Regions from separate parts of the Homo sapiens genome. Here all the other regions are linked to region 1. Evidence: promoter capture Hi-C in 16 types of primary human blood cells and fetal thymus (Javierre and others, 2016). All regions are on one chromosome and are shown on one strand. The core of a region is centred on a gene start or on the middle of the fragment in contact, and the rest is flanking DNA. Distances in the headings are between cores, read along the strand shown.

Evidence for each region. Contacts are between HindIII fragments. The CHiCAGO score rates a contact against its expected background, and 5 or more counts as called.
Region 2: a contact is called between a fragment that was not itself captured here and the fragment with the promoter of OR4D1 in region 1, in 2 of 17 cell types (M1 macrophages and M0 macrophages). The highest score is 5.6, in M1 macrophages.
Region 3: a fragment that was not itself captured here is called in contact with the fragment with the promoter of OR4D1 in region 1 in 1 of 17 cell types (non-activated CD4 T cells); the score reaches 5.3 in non-activated CD4 T cells.

Annotation. Positions count from the first base shown.
Region 1 is chr17:58,146,537-58,149,962 of GRCh38, reverse strand. It overlaps OR4D1 (olfactory receptor family 4 subfamily D member 1), which reads right to left and starts at 1,579. Exons shown (of 4, transcript NM_001386095.1): 1 at 1,379-1,579; 2 at 167-534. The HindIII fragment of the contact is 12,158 bases long and covers 1-2,055 here.
Region 2 is chr17:58,455,955-58,459,380 of GRCh38, reverse strand. It overlaps HSF5 (heat shock transcription factor 5), which reads left to right. Exons shown (of 6, transcript NM_001080439.3): 5 at 436-613. Among named protein-coding and RNA genes, the nearest start is that of HSF5, 31 kb to the left of the region's middle. The HindIII fragment of the contact is 2,581 bases long and covers 329-2,909 here.
Region 3 is chr17:57,854,710-57,858,135 of GRCh38, reverse strand. No RefSeq gene overlaps it. Among named protein-coding and RNA genes, the nearest start is that of MRPS23, 6.4 kb to the right of the region's middle. The HindIII fragment of the contact is 2,085 bases long and covers 553-2,637 here.

The DNA.
Region 1 (3,426 bases), core at 330-2,829:
TAGTAAGTACCATAAATTATCTCCACTTTACAGATAAGTAAACTGTGGCTTGAATAGGTTAACTAATTTCTCCCAGATCACATGGAGAAGAAGAAGCAGAGCTGGGATTCTGAGCCAGGTCTGATTGACCCAGAATTTGCACTCCTAATGACTATTCTCCTCTTACCTGCTCTCCTCTAAGAAGATTCAGCTTCAGCCAAACTTATCTCTTCTTCGGTCCCTCAGGTCTCAGTGCCTTCATCCAGTCAGTGCCGCATCTGAATTGCTTTTCTGTCCTGTTCACCTGTCTGAATTCTACCCTTCCTTCAAGGTTCAAGAGTAATTAGCTCTTCCATAATGTTGCTATGCCTTGGTATTTTTTCATGAGGATGGCTCTGTTCCTCACATGTGTTGTAATTTCAGTGCAAATCCAATATGTTAAGTATTACACAGTACGTGGTACACACAGACCCTTTCTCATAGTTGGTTCCCAAAAGAATGTGTGATTGCTTAATGGAGGACAGGGTGCTGGGATGGGCCAGACTGCCGTGAGAGCTGGGAAGAAAGAGAGAGTAGCCACTGGATAGAATGCAGTTTATAGGACCTCAAAGAGAATCCAAGAATCCTAATTCCCAGCATCACCAGATTTACAATCCTAGAAGCATCATCTTAGCATGGCCCGATTCTTTCCACAAACCCATCAGAATCTTTGCAAATGCTTCCTCCCCCTACATGCATAGAAAATAGATTTAGAGGGATTCTAGACAAGAAAGAAAATAGACATAGGGAGGGACATGGATCTGTATGGGGAAAGGGGAGGATTCTAGACCTCTTCTGTTGTTACTCAATCTTCTCTCCCATCTGTCTTTGCTCTTAGAAAATCAGCCCACACAGGACTAGGAGAGACGAGGGGAGAAGGAATAAGTGGGTTCCCAAAATGGGGTAGAATCTAGTCTGTTGTCATCCAGGGAGCATTAACAGGTATTGTTAAACACAAGATTTAAGAAAAGAGAGGATAAGATGGAGGGACAGCAATAAAGAAGGGAAGAAAATCTGGAGTGAGTGAGAGAAGCAGGCAGGAGAAGGGGGAAGATGGAGGAAGATGAGACTTAAAAAGGAACAGTAGAGGGTGGAAAGTGTCAGAGCAAGACCTGTTTGTGTTTTCTCCTAGGTGTGGGAAGAAGCTGTAGTATGTATGTGGGAGGCGGGGGAGATAACAGTGTATGTCTATATTCCGCTCTCCCTCCCACCCTCTGTTCTAAATTCCACCCAGCACATAAGCCAATACAGACAAAAGTCTTAATGTTAGATAAAATCAATGTTTCCCAAATCCCGTTCCCCTTGCATTAATGCCTGATGACTTCCCCCATGCCTTCCCTCCACCCCATGCTTGTCTCACGATAGGCTTTGTCGTGCTGATTTGTCCATGGGAAGGACAATGAGGCCATCACCTTCCTCCAGCCCACAGTGGCCAAGAGGACTTAGAGCCTCCCATCTCCCAGGTCACTCTTCTCCTGTAGCTCCATTCTTCTCCTGGCCTCTCTCAGACAAGGAACACATATGGGATTGGCCTTAAGGAAAGGGAAATTCCTTGGGGAGTAAAACTTAGGCTTAATTCATAAGATAAAGCCTGGCTCAGGCTGCTAAGGGCAAATGAGCAATGGGAGTTATTAAAAAGTATGTGAGATGTTGCATCAGATGCACATAATTATTGGGAGACTGTCTTGGGGCCAACATTTCAGAGTTACTGATCAAAGGACCAAGATGAAGAAGGATAAGAACCCTAAAGAGACGTGAATTCCCAGGGAGGTTTACAAGAACCAAATCCCTCAGCACCATGGGCAGTGCAAGGCCTCCACCCTCTCCTATCACCACTGTAGTTGGAAAAGTGAGTTATGTCCTAGGACACAGTCCAGGTCACCCCCTCTATAAACTCCAAAGCCTTTTTCATATGTACAGTCATTAAGGTACCATCTCTTATCCCAATCTCTGATCTGCTCTTCTCTCAGCCAAAGTGAACTCTCAATGTAAATTGGCTAAGTTCATCCTCAAGATATAATTCAACTACCATAAGCTTCACAATTATTAAATGATTTTAACCATTCAGTGGTTTTTAGTATATTCACAAACTTGTGTAACCATCACCACTACCTAATTCCAGAACATTTTCTTCGTTCTGAAAAGAAATCTCATATCCTTTAGCAGTCACTGCCCATTCTGTTCTCTCCTCAGTCTCTGGAAACCACTAATCTACTTTTTGTCTCTGGATTTGCCTGTTCTGGACATTTCCTAAAAATTGAATCATATAACACACATATGATGATATATGGCTTTTGTGTCCTGCTTCTTTCACTTATGTTTTTAAGTTTCATCTGTACTGTAGCATGTACCAGTACTAGTCATGTACCAGTCATTCCTTTTTATGACTGGATAATATTACATCATATGGATATACCACTTTTGTAAATCAGTCAGTCAGCTCTCGGACATTTGAGTTCTTTCCACTTTTTAGCTATTATGAATAAAGCTGCTAGGAATATTCATGTATAGGATTTTGTGTGGATGTATTCTTTCATTTTTCTTTGGTATATAGCTAGATGTGGAATTGCTGGATTTTATAGCAACTGTGCCTAATCTTTTGAGGAATAACCATCTTACTTAGAATAGTGAGAGTGAAGTGGCATCTCATAATTTTCGCATTTGTATTTATAAAGAATATGGTCTGTAGTTCTTTTCTTGTATCTTTGTCTGGCTTTGGTATCAAGATAATGCTGGCCTCATAGAATGTGTTAAAAAGTGTTCCCTTTGCTTCTGTTTTTTTTTTTTTTTTTTACAAGAACTTGCATAGTATTGGTGTTCATACTCCTTTAAATGTTTGGCAGAATTTACCACTAAAGCCATCTGGTACTGGACTTTTCTTGGTTGGGAGGTTTTTTAAACACTGATTCAACATTTACTTGTTATAGGTCTGTTGAGACTTTCTATTTCTTTTGAAATCAGTTTTGGTAATTTGTGTTTCCAGGAATTTTTCCATTTAATCTAAATTAGCCAATTTGTTGGCATATAGTGCTCATAGTACTCTCTTACAATCCTATTAATTTTTGTAAGGTTGGTAGTAATGTTTCTGATTTTATTTATTTGCCTCTTCTCTTTTTTTCTTAGTTTAGCTAAACATTTATAAATTTTGTTTATCTTTTCAAGAACTAACTTTGGTTACATTGATTGTATCTATTGTTTTTCTATTCTCTACTTCATTTATCTCTGCTCTAATCTGTATTGTTTTTTTCCTTCTGTTGGCTTTGGTTTTAGTTTGCTCTTCTTTTTTTAGTTCCTTAAAGTGTAAAGTTAGATAATTGATTTGAGACGTTTTTCCTTTTTTATGTAGGATTTTACAGCTATAAAATTCTAAGTATTGCTTTCACTGCACCCTGCGTATGTTGTGCTTTT
Region 2 (3,426 bases), core at 370-2,869, 310 kb before region 1:
CTACCGCGCCCGGCCTACAAAAAAACTTTTTAAAAATTAGCTAATACCTGTAGTCCTAGCTGCTCAGGAGGATCACTTGAGCCCATGAGCTCGAGGTTACAGTGAGCTATGATTGTACCACTGTACTCCCGCCTGGACAACAATGTGAGACCCTGCCTTAAAACAAAAAAAAAAACCTGTACTTTTGTAAGTTAAAAAAAAATCAACAAGCTTCATGGTAGATATTCCTCTGATCATAAGTAAATGTTTTAGCTCCATATACATTTTAATAGTTTGTGTAGGGAGAAAGGTATAGTATCAATAATAAGAATGAAAAGCCTTATAAGCTTGTTTGTTGGATCATGTTCCCATAATAGAACTCCTCTGATAAAATATCTTAACTTTTAGCAGATATTTGGAGGAAATCTCAAATAATGAATGGGTTTAATATTTTAGGTGGATGCCAACATAAAATGCCAGACCAGTTCACGTGAGAATATCTTGCCGTCAGAACAGATGGGATTCCTCATTTCAGAAATGGGGCCTGCTAGCAAGCCTAGTGAAGACACAGGTTTAGCCACTCCAGCCAGATACAGAGAGCACAGAAGCAACTCACAACAAGGAAAGTCCCCTGGTAAGGATTATTGTGCTCTAGAATGCCAGAAGTAGAATCACGCTGTAGAATTAATATATGAATGACATTTTTTCTGGGTCTCCATTTATTATTCATAATTGTATTAGACCTGTCACATTGCTGTTTTTACATAGCTGTAATTTTAACTCTATATTTGTTCTTAATTATTGTTGTGAAGTATGTAATAGTTATTTTCTTAATATTGCATATAATGATTTGGGCTTTGAAAATATAGAACATATTAAGAATAAGCAAAGGAATTTAGATTATTTAACTTGGAGAAGGCAAGGATGAAGGATGATTTAATAAGTATCCTCAGATGCCAGACTTCGAAATTGTAGTTGTACTTACTCTGTTATTAACAGACTCTAGGACAAGAGGGCATGCATTTATATTGTGACAAGAGAAAATCAGATGGAAATTTAGGATATTATCCTGAGCGCATTTTAAAGATACTATAAAGTATGACCCTATACCAATGAATGGTTTGTTATTCTTGTGGTTTGTAAGAACCCAGAATAAGTGATTGTTTTAGGCACATACAGTTGATTCTAATAAGACAAAATCATATTTTTTGAAGAAATAGTAACATCTAATAAAACATGTGTCTCATATCATCCAAAAATCAAGTTACCAAAGTCTGCAGTGGACAATTTTAATATTCTAGAATTATGTTCATGTCAGGGGCATGCAGTGCAGGCAGAATGACAGTGTAGGTTAAAATGACAGACCATCATTTTAACCTACAATAATTTGAAAAATGTTGAGAACTTCTGTGAGAATTTTTCCAAAAAGTAAATTAATAGTGATATGATCATGGTGTAGCTCAGACTCATAGGGTTCTTTCTGCAAAATGTCTTTTAGGCTAAAAACTGTCTATCATTTATTCACTAAATTTAGCTTGCACACTTTTAGTTGATTATATTTTCCAATCCATAATTAAAGACTAAAGATTTCTTACCACTGAAGGTGTTTAACACAATGGCATGAGCCTTGAAGGCAATTTAGATGAGAGAAAGGCAGGAACTAACATTTACCGTATCCATTTTTGTGCCATAGGACAAATCTGTTGGAAGTGGCATTGTCATTTTAAACATCAGGAAATTTAGGCTTAGAGTAAGTAACTTGTTCAAAGTCACATATAAATTTGTTTTATTTTTTCATTTTTTAGAGACAGAGTCTTTCTCTGTTGCCCGGGCTAGAATGCAGTGGCGCATCTTGGCTCACTGCAGCCTCCACCTCATAGATTCCAGCAATTCTCATGGCTCAGCCTCCCGAGTAGCTGGGACTACAGGTGCGTGGCACCACACCCGGCTAATTTTTGTATTTTTAGTAGAGATGGGGTTTCACCATGTTGGCCAGGCTGGTCTTGAACTCCTGGCCTCAAGTGATCCACCCACCTCGGCCTCCTAAAGTGCTGGGATTACAGGCATGAGCCACCATGCCTGGCCCTTTTTTCTTTTCTTTCCTTTTCCTTTTCTTTATTATTATTATTATTTTTTTTTTCTGAGACAGAGTCTTGCTCTGTTGCCCGGGCTGTAGTGCAATGGCGTGATCTTGGCTCACTGCAACTTCCACCTCCCAGGTTTAAGTGATTCTCCTGCCTCAGCCTCCTGAGTAGCTGGGATTACAGGCACACTCCACCACGACTAGCTAATTTTTGTATTTTTAGCAGAGGCAAGGTTTCCGCCATGTTGGCCAGGCTGGTCTTGAACTCCTGACCTCAGGTGATCTGCCTGCCTCGGCCTCCCACAGTGCTGGGATTGCAGGCATGAGCCACTGCACCCAGCTGCCTTTTTTCATTTTTTATAGAGATGGGGTCTCACTATGTTGCCCAGGCTGGTCTTGCACTCCTAGGCTCAAGCAGTCCTCCTGCCTTGACCTCTCAAAGTGCTGGGATTATGAGCATGAGCCACCATGCATGGCCAGTCACATATAAACTAATATTGCTAATATCCTACCCTAAGTTGTCTGCCTGTAGAGCACATATTCTTTCCTTTTAATTTTTTATTGTGTTGAAGAACATGTAACATAAAATTTATCATTTTAACCATTTTTATTTTTAATTTATAATTTAAATATAATTGTACATATTTATGAGGTACAATGTGATTTTTTGACACATGTATATGTAGTGTAATGATCAAATTGAGATAATTACCATATCCATCACTCTAAACATTTATCATTTCTTTGTGGTGATAACACTCTAAACCTTTTCTTCTAGCTGTCTTGAAATATACACTACATTGTTATTTGCTACAATTATGCTACTGTGTAATAGAATACCAAAGCTTATTCTTCCTATCTAACTACAACTTTTGACCAACTTCTCCCAATATCCCCACTTTCCTACTTTCCCCAGCCTCTGGTATTTACTATTCTACTTTCTTCTATGAAATTAACTTTTTTAGCTTCCATATATGAGTAAGATCATGTAGTATTTGTCTTTCTGTGCCTGGCTTATTTCACTTAACATAATGTTCTCCAGGTTCACCTATGTTGCCAAAAATGACAAGATTTCATTCTGTTTTATGGCTGAATAGTATTCCATTGTATATTTATGTACGTACGTGTGTGTGTGTGTGTGTGTGTGTGTGTATATACACACACACATATATATATATACACACACACATATATATATATATATCACATTTTCTTTATTCATCTGTAGATGCGTATTTAGGTTGATCCATATCTTGGCTATTGTAAATAGTGCTGTGGTAAACACGGGTGTGGAGATGTCTCTTCAACATACTGATTTCATCTTCTTTGGAGATACATCCAGTAGTGGGACTGCTAAATTATAT
Region 3 (3,426 bases), core at 346-2,845, 290 kb after region 1:
TGAAGGGGGCTGTGTAAATCGACTGCCACCTGGTGGTCATCTTGCAGAAGTGGCAGTCACTGGCCACTGAGACACCCAGCACCATTTTCCCAGAAGGAAGATGCGAGCACCTGTTTGGCCTTAGGCCAAAGAGACAGAGGGAAATTTACTCTGTTCACATGGTTATATGTTTTCTAAAATTTGCAAAACAAAGATATTTTAAATTTTTTCTTTTCTTTTTGTTTTTTTGAGATGGAGTTTCACTCTTGTTGCCCAGGCTGGAGTGCAACAGTGTGATCTCAGCTCACTGCAACCCCCGCCTTCTGGGTTCAAGTGATTCTCCTGCCTCAGCGTCCTGAGTAGCTGGGATTACAGGCACCCGCCACCACGCCCAGCTAAATTTTTGTATTTTTAGTAGAGACGGGGTTTCGCCATGTTGGCCAGGCTGGTCTCGAACTCCTGACCTCAGGTGATCCACCCACCTCAGCCTCCCAAATTGCTGGGATTACAGGCCGTGAGCCACTGCGCCTGGTCAAATTTTTTCTTAAGAGAGCCACTAAGATTAGATAAGCTTCAGGCCCCCCAAAACCAGCATCTACCCTGAAGAGCTGAGGCTTGGAGTCAGGTGGCCTTTCTAGAGCGTAAAGAGTCACAGTTCTTTATCAGGACAAGAGGATTATTCCAGGGACTCCAGTGGGAGGAACTATGAAACTCAGTACAAACAGCACATGCTTCCTTGCTTTGACCTTGCCATTCAAAGTGTGGTCTTTGGATACATCGACCAACTGTCCTGGTTTCCCTGGATGCAGAACTTTCAGTGCCAAAACTAGGAAAGTCGTGGGCATACTCGGGTGGGTTCGTTATCCCAACTGCAGATTCGCAGCACTGGCATCAACCTGGAAGGTTGCTAGAAATGCAGACCCAGACCTACTGAGTCACACTGCATTTTCCAAGATCTGCAGCAAATTCATGTGCATATTAAAGATCGAGTTGCTGTGGCTTCCCCAGGAAGAGAGGGGCCCACACTGGCCCTGAAATGTATGCCTTCAAGGGGTTTGGTGGGCTGCAAAACCCCACAGAGTGATTGCAACTGGTCTTGAATTCCAACAATAAAAGGCCAGCTTCTTGCTCCAGGCCTAGCTGGCCCTTTTTTCCCTGGTCACAGTGACATAGGCCTCCCAGGGCATAAAGTACTTAGTTCTCTTCCTGAACTGGATTCTTCCTGGGGGCAAGCCCAGGTTTGGTGAAGAAAAGAGTGGGTAGCTAAATGAAAATAGTTTGTAGGCTGGGCACGGTGGCTTACGCCTGTAAATCCTAGCACTTTGGGAGGCTGAGGTGGGTGGATCACTTGAGGTCAGGAATTCGAGACCAGCCTGACCAACATGGTGAAACCCGGTCTCTACTAAAAATACAAAAATTAGCTGGGCATGGGGGCGAGCGCCTGTAATCCCAGCTACTCAAGAGGCTGAGGCAGGAGAATCACTTGAACCCAGGAGGTGGAGGTTGCAGTGAGCCGAGATTGCGCCGCTGCACTCCATCTTGGGTGACAGAGCGAGATTCCATCTAACCGCTGCACTCCAGCTTGGGTGACACAGCAAGATTCTATCTAAAAAAAAACGAAAGGCAAGAGGAAAGGAAAATAGTAGCTTGTATGTTGTTAGGTAAGGTTTTTTTTTTTTTTTTTTTTTTTTTATAGAGAGTCTCAGCTCTGTCACCCAGGCTGGAGTGCAGTGCCACAATCATAGCCCACTGCAGCCTCGACTTCCAGGGCTCAAGCGATCCTCCCACCTCAGCCTCCCGAGTAGTTGGGACTACAGGCACATACTACCACGCCTGGCTAATTTTTTGATTTTTAATAGAGACAAGGTCTCTCTGTATTGCTCAGGCTGCTCTCAAACTCCTGGGCTCAATCGATCCTTCCACCTCGGCCTCCCAAAGTGCTGGATTACAGGCATGAGTCATGGCAGCCAGCCTCAGGTGAGATTTAATTGAAGGACACTGTTGCTCTAAAGCGTAGTCCGAAATTACCATCACTCTATTTATTGAGTAGTTACCATATACCGGGCACTGTTTTAAACACTTAGCAGGTATGAACCCACTGGTGCCTCACTACAAACCCTCTGCTAGGTGCTATGATTATCCCCACTTTACAAATGAAGCTGAGGCCCAGAGGACTGTAAAAGAGAACTATCTGTCAGTGAGGCACAGAGGACAGCCAGACCGGAAATGCTCACGATGTGAAGTGAATGGTGAGGTAGGGGATTATTTCCATTCACCCACAGCTCTCTCCCTATCTGTGTATCTGGGGAAGGCCTCAAAGGAAAGCTGGGCCTGGGAGAGAGGGAGGGCTGGGTATGCACAGGCAGTGAAGGGAAGGCTGAGATGACAGCATCCTCATTTGTCCTAACTTGGCTTTATTTATCCATGCTGTTCACTGGAAAACTCTGAGAGCTGTGGGCCAAGCACCAGGCCGGGTGTGGGGAGGCAGAGCTAAAAGTCCTAGTTCCTGCCCTCAAAAAGGCCCCTGTAGCCAGACTCAGACAGGTAAACAGAGTTACAACACAGACATAGCCCTGAAAGAGATAAGCATAGGAAGGGAGGGAGCAGGTCTGGGCACTCACCCGATCTTACCGAGTGTGTGCTGGGGGCTGAAAAGCTTTTCCACCTGAACTGATTCTTGACAGTTCCTTGAAGCCTAGGAAGGGGGTCTGAAGGGGAGCTCTCAGGAGAGGGGCACAAGCCCAACAGCCGGAAGGAAAGAGAAGGTACTCTGACTCCCCCCCCCCTTTTTTTTTTTTTTTGAGATGGAGTCTTGCTCTGTCGCCCCAACTGGAATGCAGTGGCACGATCTCAGTTCACTGCAACCTCCGCCTCCTGGGTTCAAGCAATTCTCTTGGCTCAGCCTTCCAAGTAGCGAGTAGCTAGGATTGTAGGTGCCAACCACCATGCCTGGCTAATTTTTAAATTTGTAGTAGAGACGGGGTTTCATCACGTTGGCCAGGCTGGTCTCGAACTCCTGACCTCAAGTGATCCACCCACCCCGGCCTTCCAAAGTGCTGGGATTACAGGCGTGAGCAGCTGTGCCTGGCTGCCTCCTCCTTTAATAGCCCTCCCTGCCCTTCATCCTCCTGGTCCTCAGACTCAGGAAGCCTACAATTCTTTTTTTTTTAACGGATCCTGATATAATCCTCTCTCTCTTTTTTTAGAGAAAAGGGCTCACTTTGTCACACAGGTTGGGGTGCAGTGGCACGATCATAGTTCACTGCAGCTGCGAACTCCTGGGCGCAAGCAATCTTCTTGTCTCAGCCTCATGAGTAGCTAGCACTACCAGCTTGTGCCACTGCACTGGCTAACTTTTTTCTTTCTCTTCTTTTCTTCTTCTTTTTTTTTTTTTTTTTTTTTTTTTTTTTGTAGAGACAAGGTCTCGCTATGTTGGCCAGGCTAGTC